2 separate regions of the Homo sapiens genome follow, and region 1 is linked to region 2. The links are contacts of gene promoters, found by promoter capture Hi-C in human tissues and cell types (Jung and others, 2019). All regions are on one chromosome and are shown on one strand. Each heading gives the region's core, a stretch centred on a gene start or on the middle of the fragment in contact. The rest is flanking DNA. Distances are from core to core; before and after follow the strand shown. Region 1 has its middle 15 kb from the start of PRR14. Region 2 holds the start of GDPD3 (glycerophosphodiester phosphodiesterase domain containing 3).

Region 1 (2,700 bases), core at 201-2,700, 520 kb before region 2:
CTTGAGCCACCGCGCCCGGCCTTACTATTATGTTTTTTTGCGATGGAGTTTCACTCTTGTTGCCCAGGCTGGAGTGCAATGGTGCGATCTTGGCTCACTGCAAGCTCTACCTCCTGGGTTCAAGTGATTCTCCTGCCTCAGCCTCCTGAGTAGCTGGGATTACAGGCGGATGCCACCACGCCCGGCTAATTTTTTTTTTTTTTTTTTAGAGTTTCGCTGTTGTCCAGGCTGGAGTGCAATGGCACGATCTCAGCTCACTGCAACTTCCGCCTTCCCAGTTTAAGCGATTCTCCTGCCTCAGCCTCCTGAGTAGCTGGGATTACAGGCACCTGCCACCACGCCCAGCTAATTTTTTGTATTTAGTAGAGAAGGGGTTTCACCATTTTGGCTAGGCTGGTCTCCAACTCCTGACCTCAGGTGATCTACCCACCTTAGCCTCCCAAAGCGCTGGATTATGGACATGAGCCAATGCGCCTGGGCAGAAATGTGGTTTTTTTTTTTTTTTTTTTGAGACTGAGTCTCACTCTATCACCCAGGCTGGAGTGCAGTGGTGCGATCTCAGCTTGCTGCAACCTCTGTCTCCTGGGTTCAAGCTATTCTCGTGCCTCAGCCGCCTGAGCAGCTGGAATTACAGGTTCACACAACCACACCCAGCTAATTTTTGTATTTTTAGTACAGATGGGGTTTCATCATGTTGGCCAAGCTGGTCTTGAAGTCCTGACCTCAAGTGATTGGCCCGCCTTGGACTCCCAACGTGCTGGGATTACAGGCATAAGCCACCGCACCTGGCCAGAAATGTACTTTTAAAATGAAGGGTGGCCGGATGCAGTGGCTCACTCCTGTAATCCCAGCACTTTAGGAGGCTGAGGCATGAAGATTGCTTGAAACAGGAGTTCGAGACCAGACTGGACAACACAGTGAGGCCCCGTTTCTGGGCACACTTGTGATTTCAGGCACAAGTCACCACGTGGGGGCTTCATCTAATTATTACCTCTGTATATTTTCCATGGTTTCCCATCTTTTACCTCTTTCATTACTACTGCATTTGTTTAGATTCTATCATCCTTGAAGGTCCAGCTGCAACAGCAGCCCCACCCATGCGTCGAAGCCTTCTGAGGTCTTTCCTTCTTCTGAGCTTCTAGGGCATCTTTTACTGTCCCTTCTGCCCTCCAATTGTGCCACCACCAGCCTGGCCAACATGGCGAAACGCCACCTGCTAAAAATACAAAAATTAGCCGGGTGTGGTGGCACATGCCTGTAATCCCAGCTACTCAGGAGGCTGAGGCAGGAGAATTGCTTTAGCTCTGGGAGGCGGAGGCTGTAGTAAGCTGAAATAGTGCCACTGCACTCTAGCCTGGATGACAGAGACTCTGTCTCTAAATAAATAAATAAATAAATAAGCAGGGCTCGGTGGCTCACACTTGTACTCCCAGCACTTTGGGAGGCTGAGGTGGGTGGATCACCTGAAGTCAGGAATTCGAGACTAGCCCGGCCAACATGGTGAAACCCTGTCTCTACTAAAAATACAAAAATTAGCCAAGCATGGTAGTGCGCACCTGTAATCCCAGCTACACGGGAAGCTGAAGCAGGAGAATCGCTTGAACCTGGGAGGCAGAGGTTGTAGTGAGCTGAGATCGCATCATTGCACTCCAGCCTAGGCAACAAGAGCGAGACTCCATCTCAAAACAAACAAAACAAACAAACAAACAAAATGCTGCTCACCTCAGAGGACTAGATGGAGAATTTTTTTTTTTTTGAGTCGGAGTTTTGTTCTTGTTGCCCAGGCTGGAGTATAATGGTGCGATCTCAGCTCACTGCAACCTCTGCCTCCCGGGTTCAAGCGATTCTCCTGCCTCAGCCTCCCGAGTAAGTGGGATTACAGGCATGCGTCACCACGCCCGGCTAATTTTGTATTTTTAGTAGAGACGGGGTTTCACAATGTTGGTCGGGCTGGTCTTGAACTCCTCACCTCAGGTGATCCGCCCGCCTCAGACTCCCAGAGTGCTGGGATTACAGGTGTGAACCACCGTGCCCTGCCTGGATGGGGATAGTTTTGTAAACTATAGAGTGCCCCCAATTTTTAGTAAAGTTACAAAGAATTTTCACACATTTTGAGTTTTATGGAGCTAGAATGCACATCACAAATACACCTATTTGAAGTGTACAATTCAATTTTTGTGCTAGCATGAAAATTTTAGTGCACTTTCATGACCACAAAAAGAAACTGCATATTCATTAGCATTCACTCCCCATTCCCCCTAGTCCTTCTTTTTTTCCCTGGGCCATAGCGTCTGGCCAATGAAACGGATTTTTGTGCTAGCGCGGCCACAATCAGTACTAGTACATTTTCATCACCCCAGAAAGAACCTCTGTATTTATTAGCATTCACTCCCCTTTCCCCGAGTCCTTCTATAGATTTGTGTATTCTAGATATTTCATATTTTATAAAACACCTTCACACATTTTTACTTGACTTCCAGGATTTTTCTTTTCTCTCTTTTTTTTTTTTGAGACAGAATTCCGCTCTTGTTGCCCAGGCTGGAGTGCAATGGCGCGATCTCGGCTCACCACAACCTCTGCCTCCCGGGTTAAAGCGATTCTCCTGCCTCAGCCTCCAGAGTAGCTGGGATTACAGGCATGCGCCACTACGCCCGGCTAATTTAGTAGAGACGGGGTTTCTCCATGTTGGTCAGGTTGGTC
Region 2 (3,072 bases), core at 493-2,992:
TCTCGGCGCCTCAGTTTCCGGAGTCAATCTATTTATCTTTTTTTTTGGTTTTGTTTTTTTGAGACAGTGTCTCGCTCTGTCACCCAGGCTGGAATGCAGTGGTGCAATCATAGCTCACTGCAGCCTCAAAACTCCTGGGTGCAAGGGATCCTCCCAGCTAGCTGGACGAGCCATTGCAACCGGCTAATTTTTTTTTTTTTTTTTTGTGGAGCTGGGGTCTTGCTATGTTGCCCAGGCCAGTCTCAAACTCCTGGGCTCAAGCGATCCACCACCTCAGCTTCTCAAAGTGCTGGGATTATAGGCGTGAGCCACTGTGCCCGGCCGAGACAGTTCTAATAATGAAAGCATAAAGCCCTAAGCATTGTTCTAAGAGGTTTACATGTATTAATTCCTTTAATCTTACAGCAGTACCTCAAGCTAGGTACTATTATTATCTCCATTTACAGATAAGGAAACTGAGACCCAGCCTATCCAGCTGTGAGGGTGAAATGAGAGATGTTGAGGTCAGGGCTCCAGTGGGTCTGCCCGGGGGGTGCTAACGACTCCTCTTCTGCCTGCTTCTCTCTTTAGGACCTGCCTCCTGCCTGCCCCTCTCCCGCCAGACTGTTAGAAAATGGACACTGTGCCCAGCCCGGACCTTGGCAGCCCAGGCCGGGGTGGAGCATGGGCCTGGCCACCTCTCTCCTTTGCTGAGGCCTCCAGCTTCAGGCAGGCCAAGGCCTTCTCCTCCCCACCCGCCCTCCCCACGGGGCCTCGGGACCTCAGGTGGCCCCAGTTCAATCTCCCGCTGCTGCTGCTGCGCCCTTACCTTCCCCAGCGTCCCAGTCTCTGGCAGTTCTGGAATGGAAGGGTTCTGGCTGCCCCAACCTGCTGAAGGGCAGAGGTGGAGGGTGGGGGGCGCTGAGTAGGGACTCAGGGCCATGCCTGCCCCCCTCATCTCATTCAAACCCCACCCTAGTTTCCCTGAAGGAACATTCCTTAGTCTCAAGGGCTAGCATCCCTGAGGAGCCAGGCCGGGCCGAATCCCCTCCCTGTCAAAGCTGTCACTTCGCGTGCCCTCGCTGCTTCTGTGTGTGGTGAGCAGAAGTGGAGCTGGGGGGCGTGGAGAGCCCGGCGCCCCTGCCACCTCCCTGACCCGTCTAATATATAAATATAGAGATGTGTCTATGGCTGACCCTGGCTCTGTCTGTGTTCGCGACGCCCCCGCCCTGCCCCGTGCGGCTCTGAGGACAGACTTGACTTGGGCTTTCAGGGGCCTGGTGCCCTTCACTCCCAGCTGCCCAGGGCTGGGGACGGGGCTCTGGAGAGCTCCAGACTCCTAGAAAGAAGGGGGTCAGTTTTCCCCTTAGTCACTGTCCTGTCCTCTCGCTAATGGCTTCCTGTCTAACTGGCTGGGGGTGATTCGGGGTGACTCAGGAGCACCCTACACACCCCTGGATCCTCTGAAATGGCAAGGGGTAGGCATGTTGGATGCGCTGGCTACAAGTACCAGTGAGAGGGAGAGGTCCTGACAGTCCTGGGTGGTTTTTACTCCCCTCATGTAGCCCAGGACGGGGCTGCTGGGGGCTGGGAAGGGCCTGGGGATATGAGAGCCAGGGCTACTTGCCTCACCTCCTGACACTACCCCAGCTTCAGCCGAACCCTGCAGCCTGGCTCCAAGCCAGCCCAGCGGCAGGCTCAGCAGGTCCCAGGGGCGTGGCAGTGGCCAGTAGTAGAGCCGGCCCACACTGGCTAGGCAGGCAGCACAGTCCCGCGGACGGCTGAGCGTGTGGCTGCAGGAGCTTCTGTGGGAGTACGGTCATGAGCCTTTTGCTGTACTATGCCCTCCCTGCCCTGGGCAGCTATGCCATGCTCTCCATCTTCTTCCTGCGCCGGCCTCATCTGCTGCACACGCCCAGGGCTCCCACCTTCCGCATCCGCCTGGGGGCCCACCGAGGAGGTGAGCCGGGTAGGGGTGAGAACAGGTGCCAAAGTGGACAGCACAGAGGGGTAGGTCCAAGGGGGCATGCTAGAAACGGGGCAGGGACCAAGAGAGAAGGAGAGCGAAGTGGCAGGGCAGGGTGTGGACGAGGAAGAAGATGCTGGCGCAGCCTGGGCTGGCTGGGGAGGTGAGGCCAGAGGGAGGATGGAGCCCAGAGAGGGAATGTGGGTGATGAGGTTGGGCCAGGCCCCTAGACCCCAAGCCCCAGAGGCCCACTCCAGTGCCCCCCACAGGATCTGGAGAGCTGCTGGAGAACACCATGGAGGCCATGGAGAAGTGAGTGTATCTGCCCCTGCCCAGGCTGCCATGTGAGGGTGTGCAGGTCGTGGACTGCATCACAGCAAGGGACGCCATTCACTTCCTAGCTGGGTGACTGGCGCCCCCTGGAGGTGGCCTGCACATCCCGCCACGAACTCCGCTCTCACATTCCCGGCCACCTCCCAGCCACCATGCCCCTCATCCCAGTCCCCTGCCCCTGCCCCCCGCTGACCTTCACCCCCACAGCTCCATGGCCCAGCGCTCGGACCTCCTGGAGCTCGACTGTCAGCTGACACGGGACAGAGTGGTGGTGGTGTCACATGATGAGAACCTGTGCCGCCAGTCGGGCCTAAACAGGGATGTGGGCAGCCTGGACTTCGAGGTGGGCCCTGCCCTGACACCCCAACCCCCACCCTGAGAGTCACCATGCCCAATGCGGGCCTCTAGTGACATCCTTCCTGTCCTCCCCAGGACCTGCCCCTCTACAAGGAGAAGCTGGAGGTTTACTTCTCTCCAGGTGAGAGCAAGGGCTTCGAGCCCTGCCTGGGCCATGCCTGCCTTCCTTGGACCTCCGCCTTGGCTTCCCTCTGACCCCTTTTCCCACACCACCCCCAGGCCACTTTGCTCACGGGTCAGACCGGCGCATGGTTCGTCTGGAGGACCTGTTCCAGAGGTTTCCAAGGACACCCATGAGCGTAGAGATCAAAGGGAAGAACGAAGAGCTCATCCGTGAGGTGGTGCTGCAGGCAGGGCTAGGGCGGCCACCGGGGGCGTGAGAGAGGCCTGGCTCTCCCTTCACCTCCTTCTCCTCCTCCCAGATAGCAGGCTTGGTG

The links. Contacts are between HindIII fragments. The study calls those that stand out against the background at their distance.
Region 1: a fragment that was not itself captured here is called in contact with the fragment with the promoter of GDPD3 in region 2 in 1 of the 25 tissues and cell types used here (lymphoblastoid cells).

What each region holds. Positions count from the first base shown.
Region 1 is chr16:30,634,972-30,637,671 of GRCh38, reverse strand. No RefSeq gene overlaps it. Among named protein-coding and RNA genes, the nearest start is that of PRR14, 15 kb to the left of the region's middle. RefSeq lists an enhancer at 2,304-2,700. The HindIII fragment of the contact is 7,557 bases long and covers 1-2,700 here.
Region 2 is chr16:30,112,207-30,115,278 of GRCh38, reverse strand. It overlaps GDPD3 (glycerophosphodiester phosphodiesterase domain containing 3), which reads left to right and starts at 1,742. Exons shown (of 10, transcript NM_024307.3): 1 at 1,742-1,939; 2 at 2,215-2,257; 3 at 2,486-2,621; 4 at 2,711-2,756; 5 at 2,855-2,973; 6 at 3,058-3,072. The coding sequence starts at 1,801. It overlaps MAPK3 (mitogen-activated protein kinase 3), which reads left to right. Exons shown (of 9, transcript NM_002746.3): 9 at 571-1,174. RefSeq lists a silencer at 1,477-1,771. The HindIII fragment of the contact is 6,526 bases long and covers 1-3,072 here.